3 separate regions of the Homo sapiens genome follow, and all the other regions are linked to region 3. The links are contacts of gene promoters, found by promoter capture Hi-C in human tissues and cell types (Jung and others, 2019). All regions are on one chromosome and are shown on one strand. The core of a region is centred on a gene start or on the middle of the fragment in contact, and the rest is flanking DNA. Distances in the headings are between cores, read along the strand shown.

What was found. The method cuts DNA at HindIII sites, captures the fragments that hold promoters and counts their contacts. A contact is called where the count stands out against the background at its distance.
Region 1: a fragment that was not itself captured here is called in contact with the fragment with the promoter of MALSU1 in region 3 in 1 of the 25 tissues and cell types used here (pancreas).
Region 2: a contact is called between a fragment that was not itself captured here and the fragment with the promoter of MALSU1 in region 3, in 2 of the 25 tissues and cell types used here (IMR-90 fibroblasts and dorsolateral prefrontal cortex).

Annotation. Positions count from the first base shown.
Region 1 is chr7:23,437,697-23,442,214 of GRCh38, reverse strand. All of the region lies in intron 2 of IGF2BP3 (insulin like growth factor 2 mRNA binding protein 3), which reads left to right. Among named protein-coding and RNA genes, the nearest start is that of IGF2BP3, 31 kb to the left of the region's middle. The HindIII fragment of the contact is 4,095 bases long and covers 1-3,388 here.
Region 2 is chr7:23,524,509-23,528,991 of GRCh38, reverse strand. The region is part of intron 1 of TRA2A (transformer 2 alpha homolog); the gene reads left to right. Among named protein-coding and RNA genes, the nearest start is that of TRA2A, 5.2 kb to the left of the region's middle. The HindIII fragment of the contact is 5,751 bases long and covers 163-4,483 here.
Region 3 is chr7:23,296,290-23,300,949 of GRCh38, reverse strand. MALSU1 (mitochondrial assembly of ribosomal large subunit 1) reads right to left here and starts at 1,611. Exons shown (of 4, transcript NM_138446.2): 1 at 1,342-1,611; 2 at 1-111. The coding sequence starts at 1,597. RefSeq lists an enhancer at 1,305-1,794. The HindIII fragment of the contact is 12,532 bases long and covers 1-4,567 here.

The sequences.
Region 1 (4,518 bases), core at 92-2,591, 140 kb before region 3:
ACCATTATGCCTAGGTGCTAGGGAGACAGAAAAGCATTAATTTACAATTTTGAAAGAGAAAAATTAACTTTTTAAAAAAATTTTCTTGAGACAGAGTTTCACTCTTGTTGCCCAGGCTGGAGTGCAATGGCATGATCTTGGCTGACTGCAGCCTCTGCCTCCCAGGTTCAAGTGATTCTCATGCCTCAGCCTCCCGAGTAGGTGGGATTACAGGCATGCACCACCACACCCGGCTAATTTTTTTGTATTTTTAGTAGAGACGGGGTTTCTCCTTGTTGGCCAGGCTGGTCTCAAACTCACGACCTCAGGTGATCCGCCCGCCTCTGCCTCCCAAAGTGCTGGGATTAAAGGCATGAGCCACCCCGCCCAGCCAGAATAATTAACATTTTATAGTAATCTTATTCAATTTATAAACAGATTTATGTGAATGATACAAGTATAATATTTTTAACCACTGTCATAATTGGCAGTCACTTTAAATGCTTAGCTGGACTGAGTTTTCACACTCTCTGAGTAGGTAATTTGCAATTTCTGGTAGAGGTGGGAGCAGTTAAGGTTCTGCAAGTCTTTTTTTTTTTCCCTAAATCTACAGAATTTTAACATATGTGTCTTTTTTTTTTTTTTTTTTTTTTTTTTTTTTAAGAGATGGAGTCTCACTCTTGTCCCCAGGCTGGAGTGCAGTGGCACGATCTCAGCTCACTGCAACCTCGGCCTCCCGGGTTCAAGCGATTCTCCTGCCTCAGCCTCCCAAGTAGCTGGAACTACAGGCGTGCACCACCAAGCCCAGCTAATTTTTGTATTTTTAGTAGAGATGGGGTTTCACCATGTTGGCCAGGATGGTCTCGATCTCTTGACCTCATGATCCGTCCACCTCGGCCTCCCAAAGTGCTGGGATTACAGGTGTGAACCACCGTGCCTGGTCTTAACATATGTGTCTTTATTTTTTGCAGAGATGTGATCTCACTATATTGCCCAGGCTGGTCTTGAACTCCTGGCCTCAAGCGATCCTTCCACCTTAAGATGTGTGTCTTGTTAGAAGTAAATCAGATCTGGTGGTTTTGATGCTATTTATTCAGTCTCATAACTGTCATGACTCTGAATATATAGGCTCTTGAAATGGTAGACCAAAAAATACTTCAAGTATATTATTTGCTATTCTTTTCTGCTTGTAGGATTCTGCAACTAATTTTTAAGTTATTTATGTGTGTAAAGCCTTCCCAAGTCCCAGGATACCTAAAGTTGTAAACATAGGGGTAAATAACTATTTAAATGATGTCTGATAGATAAATCTATAGAGAAGGGATTCAGAATCCCAAATGCTTGCAACTGATATTGTATTCTTATGTTCAAGGTTTAATCGTCAGTAGAGTAGGCTTAAATTTGTTTATGTATATGATGTGGGACCTCTTAGAAAAAAGCTAAAACTTTGACTTAGGTCCTTCTATAGCCCTAGTAGAGCCTGCGTAAAAATAAAAATGACCTGATATGTGGACAGGTGGCTGGTGGTTAGGGGTTGTTGGAGTCCTGGTGTGCCGCTCCCCCAATAGACAGTATGTCGGGATAGCTTATGTTTGCACTTGATTCTACTAGTCTGTTTCAGGCAGTTGTTAAAGTACTTGGCTGTGTAACACATTCTTAAAGCTTACGCATTTCCAAAACACTGATTTCAACATTTTTACAAGGTGTTAAGGCCCATCCCACTAAAGTGTAATACCCTATACAGATTGTTAATAACAGATTTAGTTTATGATGATTTTTCAAATTATAAAGCTTTGTTTTGAAACAGAGTCTCTCTCTGTTGCCCAGGCTGGAGTGCAGTGGCACGATCTCGGCTCACTGCAACCTCTGCCTCCTGGGTTGAAGTGATTCTCCTGTCTTGGCCTCTGCAGTAACTGGGATTAAGGGCACGTGCCACCATGCCCAGCTAATTTTTTTTTTTTTTTTTGAAATAACTAAACAATTTCTGCTCTGTTGTCCAGGCTGGAGTGCAGTGGCACGATCTTGGCTCACTGCAACCTCTGCCTCCTGGGTTCCAGTGATTCTCCTGCCTCAGCCTCCCGAGTAGCTGGGACTGCAGGCGCGTGCCACCACACCCAGCTAATTTTTTGTATTTTTAGTAGAGACGGGGTTTCACCGTATTAGCCAGGATGGTCTCGATCTCCTGACCTCGTGATCTGCCCACCTCGGCCTCCCAAAGTGCTGTGATTACAGGTGTGAGCCACCTCCCTCAACTAATTGTAAAGCTTTCAAAAAAGAGATAGAAGGTTTGGCAGAGAGGAAAGGGCCATTGTAAATTTTTGTGGTTCTGTTACAGAGAAAGCCCGAGGGCAGGTAGATGTGCTCTAGGTACTGTTGAGTGTGAGTACTATGCAAAGGTGAGAGCCATTTGTTTCTATCTTTGGTGCTTGGTGCTCCCACCCACCTCAGTTTCTTTGTTTATGTTAAATGTTTTGACCAATTATATCAACACTGGAAAGGAGACCAAGAGTTTTTCTTCCTTTGAGAGACTTGTATCCTCTGTGAGATTGGTTGGTTACGTGTTAAACTCATAGGGGTAGTGTGTGTTGTGTAATCACACTGATTATAAGCATGATATCACAACCTACATTATCATAAGGGACAGAGTTTAAACATGTCTTTTTTTTTTTTTTTTTTTTTTTGAGACGGAGTCTCGTTGTCTCCCAGGCTGGAGTGCAGTGGCACGATCTTGGCTCACTGCAAGCTCCGCCCCCTACTCACGCCATTCTCCTGCCTCAGCCTCCCAAGTAGCTGGGACTACAGGCGCCCGCCACCACACCCGGCTAATTTTTTTTTTTTTGTATTTTTAGTAGGTGGGGTTTCACCGTGTTAGCCAGGATGGTCTTGAGATCTCCTGACTTCATGATCTGCCCACCTCGGCGTCCCAAAGTGCTGGGATTACAGGCGTGAGCCACCGTGCCCGGCCAAACATGTCACTTTTTATTTTATTTTTTATTTTGAGGCAAGGTCTCTGTCCCCAGCCCGGAGTGCAATGGTGGTATCATAGCTCATTGCAGCCTCAAACTCCTGGGCTTAAGGGATTCTTTTGCCTCAGCCTTCGAGTAGCTAGGGCTTACAGGTACATGTCACTGTGCCCAGCTAGTTTTAAAAATTTTTGTTGAGATGAGGTCTCACTTCGTTGCCCAGGCTGGTCTTTAGCTCCTGGACTGAAGTGATTCTACTTCAGCCTCCCAAAATGTTAGGATTACAGGTGTCAGCCACCATGCCTGGCCTATAAACATGTAACTTTTTAAATTGAAATTGAAAAATATGTAACATTTTTAACAACTATAATGGTGGAAAGTAGAATCGTTAAATTTTTTTTAGCATCTCAGTCTTATGAGTTTATTAAGTAGATTTTACATTATTGCTACTGGAAATCTGTCATCTTTTCTGAGAAAGTAATTTAACTGGAAGTGTGACATAGTTACTGAAGTTTTAAAGGACCACAACTAGGGTTATTATAACTAAATTTATTTAACTAAATTTTTAAAGATTATTTTATCAGCCTAACAACCATTATAAGCGTGTGGGGTCCTTGAAATGACTTCCCAGTAGAAAGGAATTAAAAAATTTTTTAAAAATAGAGTCGGTCTCACTGTGTTGCCCAGGCTGGTCAAAGGGAACTTCTTGAAACATCATATGCATTGGATCTTTTGTCAGTTAGTGTACTTATTTGTCTCATTTACCTTAGATGGTGACTGAGGTTGGATATTTGCCTTGAAATGATCTATGTTGATGTGACCTTGAGTCTTCTTTATAAAATTTGTATGTGGCCCAGTGTAGTGGCTTGGTGGTTCATGCCTGTAATTCCAGCACTTTGGGAATGCCAAGGGGGGCAGATTACTTAAGCTCAGGAATTCAAGACCAGCCTGGCTAACATGGAGAAACCTCGTCTTTACGAAAAATACAAAAATTAGCCAGGCATGGTGGTGGGTGCCTGTAATCTCTTGGGAGACTGAGACAGGAGAATTACTTGAACCTGGGAGGTGGAGGTTGCAGTGAGCCGAGATCGTGGCACTGCACTTCAGCCTGGGCAACAGAGTGAGACTCCGTCTCAAAAAAATTAAAATTTGAAAGTAAGTTCGATAATTTCTAGTGTTTCCTCCAGGAGATTGGGATTCATGTTGTTATTATATTGAACAATTTTCCTGAATATCTGTGTAAGTGAGTTTTATTTACACAGAAGCCAAATAGTATTCATCTAAGATAAAGGTAGACGTAGCATGGACATTGGGAGGTATGAGTTTGAATTTGGCTTTTCGTTGACTTGCGTTTTGACTTTGGTTAAAATAATCCTTTGAGGCTGTTTCCTTAATCTGTAAAATGGGAGTCTTAAATTGACCTCACTTGTTTGGTGTAAGGGTACAGTGGAAATGTATTTCAAGTACTTGGTATGGCTTTACCCATAAGGAGTCACTGAATAGTTTTTTACTTTTGTTCTCAATATTGGTGAAATCTTAAAGTTTGTTGTTAAATTGCAGTTGTGGCAGAAATAAT
Region 2 (4,483 bases), core at 1,789-4,288, 230 kb before region 3:
GAGGTTAATGATTCTTTATTGTTAGGGACCTATCTTGTAATTCCAGAGTTATTTATGTTTTCTACAGTTGAAGAGGAAAAATACCGCTTCTTATTGCCTCCTTTTCAGGATTTCTTCTGGCTTCTTGAGTAGCTGGAGTATTTTTGAGAGACTCCTACAGGCCCTGCGGGGTGGCACATGCCTGTAATCCTAGCTACTTAGGAGGCTGAGGTGGGAGAATTGCTTAAACCCGGGAGGCAGAGGTTGCAGTGAGCCGAGATCGCATCACTGCACTCCAGCCTGGGCGACAGAGCAAGACTCTGTCTCGAAAAAAAAAAAGGCAAACAAATTTATCTGTATCAATTTGGAATTAAAAGATTTGTGTGTATAGATTTTTTGTTAAAAATAGAAGAAATAGGGGGAGGGTCCTTTTCTGAAATCTGAGAATGATAGGGATGATGACTATCAAAACCCAGGCCTGTGACTGGCTTGTTTAAAAACAAAACAAGGCCGGCCCGGTGGCTCACGCCTGTAATCCCAGCGCTTTGGGAGGCTGAGGCGGGCGGATCACAAGGTCAAGAGATGGAGACCATCCTGGCCAATATGGTGAAATACAGTCTCTACTAAAAATACAAAAATTAGCTGGGCGTGGTGGCGCGCGTCTGTAGTCCCAGCTACTCGGGAGGGTGAGGCAGAGAATCACTTGAACCCGGGAGGCGGAGGTTGCAGTGAGCCGAGGTCGGCCACTGCACTCCAGCCTGGCAATAGAGCGAGACTCGTCTCAAAAACAAAACAAAAAAAAACACAGAACTTTTAAATTGGGCTTAAAATTTTTTTGTGTATGAAGTTTTAAGATAAATGTGAGAGATGTCATAGCATTTTGCTTATTCAGCGTCTTTAGCAATTTAATTCCATATATCATCAAATTGACCTTACATAAGGGTAAAGCTTTCTTTCTTATAGTAGGGATAGTGTTAACCTAAGAGAGTCTTGGGTTTAATCTATTTTCCTAAATTTAAGTACTATCATTTATCTGATTTTAATGCTTTCAGTTGTTCTCCTCTCCCCTTCCATTTAAGCAAAGAATTTGTAAACTTAAAAAAAATTAAAATCTCAAATTTTTATATTTGAGGTTCTTTCACTGAAGGATGTTGATCTGCTCAATATAAGTAGAGGGCAAGATTTTGAAAAGGAGCAGTGCAAGTAATTATACCCACAGCGCATAACTAATTTTACAGATCTGTCATAGAGGCTTATACTTTGTACCACTCATTAAATGGAATATAGAACCTTGAGATCTGAAAGAATGTCCAGGGATTTAAATATTTAGGGATGTGTGGTTTGGAAAACACTTTGTCTGTGGGCTTAATTTTGTAAATCAACCAAACTCTAACCTACGATGTAGCATGTGTATTATAAGAAGTGTGAAATGTCATCAATAATCAGCATAGTAGTTTCCTAGAACTTGACTGGCAGAAAACTTTCTTTGATAGTATCAGTGGGTGCTCACCCATTAGATAACTAAAAGATGTGTATTCACGTGCTAATGAATTAAAACTGATTGCTATTTGTTCATATGTCCTCACAAATTTAGCAAGACAGGCATGGAGGTGAAAAAAATAGTAACAACTAGATGAGGGAAAGATTGTATACACTGAAGAAAAGTTGAGAGGAGAATACTAAAGGGAAATATGGTTTCCCTTCCCTCCTTTTAAGTTACTTATATATATAGTTATATATAATCCTTACTGTCCCATGACTTTCACCAAAGATGGAGTGACTAGGCCTGACTGATATGTAGAAGAAAAGTTGTGATCTTTCCTTGAAACCAGGACCCTATCATCTGACTTACCAAGATTCATAAATACTGTATAACTCCAGAAGATTAGAACATAATGTTAAATCACATTAGTCCTTACAAACTTGTTTTTTCTACCTTTGAAATTGCCACTTATACATTAGTTTTTTGAACATTACAATTGATCAGGATATATAAGCTATGAGACTTATGAACCACGTTTAAAATTTGTACAAAAGATTATAAATTTTACAGGTGATTTCACAATTATGGCATGAGTTTAAATTTGATTATATGTGGGTGTCAGTTACTAAATCATGTATTTATGATAAGACTTCTAAATTTTAGAGAATAAGGAAACATACAGAATTAGAATATGTTTGAGTCTTTGCAGATAAAGACCACATTGACTTCAGAATGCAGCATATAGGCATGCTGCATTTAAAAGAAGGGAAATTATTATTTCAATTTAATATGAGCAGTCGCTATCTTCTTTTTAAGGGATTTGTTCTAATAGCAGTTACGGTTTAAGAAGATAATGGAAGTGTTGCTTTAACTTCATAGGGGTCTGTAAGAGTATTCTCCCATACTCAAGGGGAAGGAAGCAGAACTGTTGTTCTTTCTATAGGCTGAGGTTGAGTAAATACAGGTTTTTTACAACTCCTAAAGAAGTTCTTTAGTAAGTAGTAAAATGAATATTGTAAGGTATTTGAATAATTTCGGTACATTTCCCTTCTTTTTGGGTACTTGTGATTTTCCTCAATGCACTAGTGTGTATCTATGGAAATAGAGCGCCAGTGTCATAAAGTAGCAGGAAAATACATTTTTAGTAAGTCTGTTTTACAAGCTTATACTCATAGACTTGGACTTGAGTAAATTTGGCCCTATTAAATGGCATAGAATTTGCCTGGCCTTAATGTTAGAGTAAGTTACAGTATAGCATTTAATAGTTTATTTATTTTAATGGATAGCACATATATATATTGTGTTGGAATTTCTTTTTATAGTATGACACAGGCTATATTAAAAGACTGCAGTTATTGCTTGCTGTAGGAATTGTTCATGTTCCGCAACATTGTGTACATGTATATAATAACCCTTTTCCTGATTAAAAGAATAGTACATGGTTATTGTGGTTATTCACAGTGTGTAAAATACAACTCTATTTTAACACAGAAAGACAATTCTTAACCAGCTTGTATTGGTTACACTATAACACTTTCTTAGTGTTTTAGTTAGTTCCCTCCTTTTAATTTTTGGCCATTTCCTTCAACCAACAGCAGGGTCATCTTGATAATAAAGAATAGTTTAAACAAGCAGGCCGGGTGCAGTGGCTCATGCCTGTAATCCCAGCACTTTGCGAGGCTGAGGCGGGTGGATCACTTGAGGTCAGGAGTTCGAGGCCAGCCTGGCCAATGTGGTGAAACCCCGTCTCTACTAAAATAAAATACAAAAGTTAGCCAGGTGCGATGGCGGGTGCCTGTAATCCCAGCTACCCAGGAAGCTGAGGCAGAATTGCTTGAACCCAGGAGTTGGAGGTTGCAATGAGAAGATTGTGCCACTGCACTCCAGCCTGGGTGACAGAAAAACCAAACAAGCAAATAAACATCAAAACAAAAACCTGTTAAAGCAGGTTGTGCTGTGAGAAGAACTTTTCTGCCTGGCTTCTGCTTTATAGCCTATAAGATAGACTGGAGGCCTATTTAAGACTTTTGTTAAAATTCATGATACGAGTTGAGTTATTAATCTGCCCATTTAAACCGGGCAGTGTATTTTTAATGGTTATTGGATGCAGGAGCCAGATTACTGAGGAAATGGTAGGATTCCTTGACTGGACAGCTTTAAGAACAAGTAGTCTAGTGAAACAGGGCAGATACCACCCATTCCCAGCAATCTTTTTTGTTTGCAATTTCAATTCATTTTCCAAATTGTGGATAGTTTTATGAATTTCTTTGAGAAAAAGTTGAAATTATTTCATAATGAAGACGAGTCAGAGAGAAAAGGATTAGCCTAGCATTTGTCCTCTTTATATAAAGGACTTCTTATAGCCTGATTCCTAATGCAGAGTTCAGTGAAAGTGACATTTATTTGGTAACAGCTTTTGAGAAATGTTACTTTATTTCTAAATAATTATATACTTGGCAGTTTATTCTTCCAGTTAAGTTTACTAATAGTTACTGATTTGTTAATATAAGTTTGTAAGTTGTTTTTGAAAGTTAAAATGAAGCTGGGTGTGGTGGCTCACACCTGTAATCCCAGCGCTTTGGGAGGCCAAGGCGGGCAGATCAAGGAGTCAGGAGATGGAGACCAGCCTGGCCAACATAGGGAAACCCTATCTCTACTAAAAACACAAAAATTAGCTGGGTGTGATGGCGTGCACCTGTAAGCTGAGCTACTCAGGAGGCTAAGGCAGGAGAATCGCTTGAATCCGGGAGGCGGAGGTTGCAGTGAGCTGAGATCAGGTGCCACTGTACTCCAGCCTGAGCTACAGAGCAAGACTCCATCTCAAAAAAAAAAAAAATAGTTAAAATCATAGTGACAACTTTGTAGCTAGGAGTTAGAGACAGCTAAGAGGACTGTTTTTAGCTTAGATGTTTCCATGAAGAAATTTGTGCAGACTGAGATTTCCTCTGAGATAAAAAGAAAGAAGGGCAGACAACAAAGGAGGTTAGGTATTTGTGACACCTTTGATAATAAAAAGCAAAG
Region 3 (4,660 bases), core at 362-2,861:
AATCTGTATATCTCATTTCTGGAGGAACCTGGATCACACAAATGTCTCTTGCATTTTCTTGCCTCAGAAGTGAAACCATCATATCGATGTCAAACTTGGGACCAGTATGATCTGAAATGCACAAATAGTTGTTTGTATCAGGATGGCCAAGCAGATAGACGTGTATGCACCCAGAGATGCCGGCAGCTGACTGTTCCTCCATGAGGGTGTTTAGATCCAAAGTGTTTTTACAGATAGCAGGGTAAAGGCCTCCTGGAAGGTGAACCTGGGCAGTAGTATCATAGCACCGCTCAACTTTTATGGTCAGGGTGCTCAGATTACGCAGAGCCACTATACATCCTTCGCTATTAACCATATGCAAGTAGAACCAGACACCAGTGACAAATGACTTTCTACTAATACTTAAAAGGAGCAATACACCACAATCACAGAAATGCTGTGCAAAGAAAAACAGCACCACAAAATGGGTAGGAGGTGATATCCTGGAGCATATTAAATTGAATCTCAGTCATAACGGGTCACAGAATTGTGAGCTGGAAGGGCTCTTAGGCAGTATCTGGTCCACAACCTTCAGTTGAGAGATGAAGAAACTGAGGCCTAGGAGAATTACTGTGGCCTAAGATCAGTCACTGAAAGAGCTACATTTTTGAGTAATTATTATTTTGAACCTTCCAGTTTTCATATAAAACCACCGGGTTATTAACAACTGTTACCTATGAAAATCTAATTTTTTTTCCCGTAAAGATTTAGATATTCTGATCTTCAGCTTGGAGTATTACAGGCTGTAAATTTAAAAGCTCGCCCAAGTTCTAAAGCCGACTCCAAAGGACCTAGTAGCTAAGCCCACTAAGGCCTCTCCCTCTCATACTCTACATTCTTAGATGTGATCTGTTTACCATTCTTAAGTTTCTAAAAACGTCAGCAATAACTAGAGGATATTAACTTGGACCCATCTCCTACTGGCGCTTCCTACGCACCCCTTCGCACCCAGACCCTGGCTCCTCAGAATCCTCAAGCCCCAACAGTCCCCACAAACCCATTTCCCAGGATCCTAGGAAGAGGGTAAAAGGAAGTGAGGACGGTGAGACTGTGATGCCAAGGGTGGGAGATGGCCGTCCGGGAGGCTGGGATTCTGCAGTTCATCTCTTGCCCTCAATTTCTTCACTGTGAAACGGGAAGGTTGGCGCCAACAACCTTTGAAGTCCCTTCCAGCTCTGGATGTGCAGGAGTTTTGTGACTCCAAGAGAAATGCACATAGAGGGGAACCCAGAGCCACCTTGGCTGGGACCTGACTCCAGACTGCCCGGAGAGGGTCGCCTTCGTTCTTCTCCACGCCCGTACCTGCCGCGTCCGATTCTGGGCGTCCCTCGTTGACCGTCCCCTCCGCCCGCTCCTCCAGCCCAGGCTCGCTGTGCAGGCCGCGGACAAAGTTTGGGGTCTGGCAAGCCCGGCAGAACGCTGCTCCTACGGGAAGCCGCTGCACGGCCAGCAGCCGAAGCCCGGGCTCGGCTCCAACCGCGGACCCCGCCACCGAGGAAACCGCCCTGCGCCACATTAGTGGGGCGAGCAGCCGCGCCACACGGCCGCCCGGCCCCATAGCAGCAGCCTTGCGTCGGCGTCGCGGGTGGGTGGTACTTCATGGAGCCCGGCCGGGAAATTCTACGTCGATGCGTGGGCGGAGTCAAGGCCTGAAGGACGGACCATGGGCGGAGTCTGGAGCCCGTGAAGACTGCAGTGACCCGGAAGAGCTACTTGGGGATTAGGGCGTGCGGGAATAAAGAACTAGTGTTGCTTGCCCACCTTGCTTTGCTTTGTGTCGCAGTAGCGCATTACGTTGTCACTTTTTTTTTGGACTCTGTCCACTAATGTGAGGCTCATGAAGGCAATAATTTTTGTTTCATTTTTAACTCTTCTCTCCACAGCACCTAAAACAGTTCCTGGTACTGAATGTCCAGAAGTTGCTGTTAATCTGATTAGGCTGGGATTAGGACATATAATCTACCCTCTCTCATTACCAGAAAATATTCAAGATTCCCTTGCAAATTTGAAATTGCGCGAGGAAAATCTGTTATCCTGGGCTAGAGTGGGGTGGGAGGCAGAGGTGTAAAGGACCATTTGGAAACCGTTCTTAGGTCAGCCCATCATCTACACTCCCTGTATGGAGGAGTTTACGCCCAGGGGCGGTACTGTGGGGACCAGCTCTGTAAGAATAAGGAATTCTGAGGTGCCAGCTGCGGTATTAAGTCACAGGACTTGAGAACTGCGATAGATTCCTGGCACGGGTGGGGGGGTGGGGGGTTTTGGGGGCGTGGGACGCCGCAGGGAAGCAACTTGCCCAGGTCATACACTTACTGACTGCGTCAGAATCAGAAGCCAGTTTCTGGCTTCTGAACTCCAGGCCTGCTAACTGCTGAAAGGAAGGCTTCATAGAGAGCAAATATTTCAAATGCCTGAAACAGTGCCAGACACATAGCAGGCACTCCAAAAATGTTTGCTACATTATTTTAAATAATTCCAAGCACTAATTTTGGGAAGTTTTTTAAAAATAGAGAAATTAAGCATTTGTGTATATCACACCAGATATGTACAACCACTTCAAGTTATTTTTGAAAAGAAGAAAAACATTACAGATTAAGTTTCCTCTGTCCAATTTTAGCCCCATCCTCAATTCCATTTTTCCACAGGCATGAACTTGGCTTTTCTCCCAGCTTCTGGCATCCATTCCGTGTTCCCACCCTTCTCTGAACATCCCAGACCTGCTTTACCACCTGTATTTGCCAGCTCATTTAATGGGTCATTATCCCTTCAAAACTCCCAAACCCTAGACTTCATTCAGTCCAGGATCTTCATACAACAAACGAATCTGTTGTCAAAATCCTGCTTATGTGACCTCCAAAATGTTTCTGTGAGTTCAGCTTCTTGTCTTCATTTCCACTGTTTCTTCCTTAGTCCACACCCTCATTAGTTCTTGCCTAATTACAGAGACTGCCTCCTACCTGGCTTTCCTGTCTCCAGTCTGTTTCTACTCTTTTCATCCTCCATGCTGCCCTTCTATCAACTACAATCATTTTCGCTTTATCTGCTTTTTGCTGTTTTTCAAACTCACCATACCCTTTTTTATTTTTATTTTTTAAAGAGATGGGGTCTTACTCTTGTCACCCAGACTGGAGTACAGTCACACAATCATAGCTAACTACATCCTCAAACTCCTGGGCTCAAGCGGTGCTCCTGCCTTAGCCTCCCAATTAGCTAGGACTACAGGCATGTGGAACCATGGCCAGCTAATTTTTGTTTTTAATTTTTTTAAAGACAGGATCTCACTATGTTGCCCAGGCTGGTTTCAAACTCCTGGCCTTAAGCAATCTACCCCACTGTAGCTGTGAGTATAGGCATAAGCCACCATGCCTGGCAACCTCACCATATCCTTTCAATGCCAAGCTTTGCATATACTTTTTTTTTGAGATGGAGTCTCGCTCTGTCACCCAGACTGGAGTGCAGTGGCACCATCTCGGTTCACCACAACCTTTGCCTCCAGGGTTCAAGCAATTCTCCTGCCTCGGCCTCCCAAATAGCTGGGATTACAGGCACGTGCCACCACCCCCAGCTAATTTTTGTATTTTTAGTAGAGACGGGGTTTCACCATGTTGGCCAGGCTGGTCTCAAACTCCTGACCTCAAGTGATCCACCCGCCTCAGCCTCCCAAAGTGTTGGGATTACGGGTGTGAGCCACCGTGCTTGGCCACTACTCTTTTTAGAGCACCCTTTTCCCATTTTTTCATATGACAAACTCAGACTCACTCTGTAAGACATACCTTAAGCATTAAGATATCTCCCCCTACTCTCTCAGATGGCCCCTCAGAAACCCCTCATCCCTTTGTTCATAAATGTCTTTAACATTTATGTTTGACTGCATGATACCCCACTAGAAAAGACTTAGATTTAATTCCACCTCTTCTGTTTATTAGCAGTGTACTATTGAAGTTCTTAATCTGAGCCTCAGTTTCCTCATCTGTAAAATGAGGGAATGATACCTTCTTCACAGAGTCTCGAAAAATTGGATAAAATATGCAGCACAAATTATATACCATAGTGCTTGGCATGTAGTAATCATATGGAAATTAGTATCTGTCTACAAATTGACCTCATGGAGAGGAAATGGCTTGAACCCAGTCATTATGATAAAGCCCATCAGAAAAAGACAACCAGGAACACGTGTGGTCAAAGTTTTTTTTTTTCCTGAGACGGAGTCTCGCTCTGTCACGCAGGCTGGAGTGCAGTGGTGCAATCTCAGCTCACTGCAACCTCCGCCTCCCGGGTTCAAGCAATTCTTCTGTCTCAGCCTCCTGAGTAGCTAAGATTATAGGCGTGCACCACCACGCCTGGCTAATTTTTTTGTATGTTTAATAGAGACGGGGTTTCGCCACGTTGGCCAGGCTAGGCTCGAACTCCTGACCTTGTGATCCTCCCATCTTGGCCTCCCAAAGTGCTGGGATTACAGGTGTGAGCCACCGCACCTGGCCCAAAGTTAGTTTTATTAACTCGCTGTAGCAAGGGAGACTGCATGCTATGGAGGACAGAGGAGCAGCTCAGGAAGAGGGACTAGAAGGGGCTTTGTTTAGGGCTCGTGCTTATGCTCAGTGAGTCTAAGGAGAGATCAGAG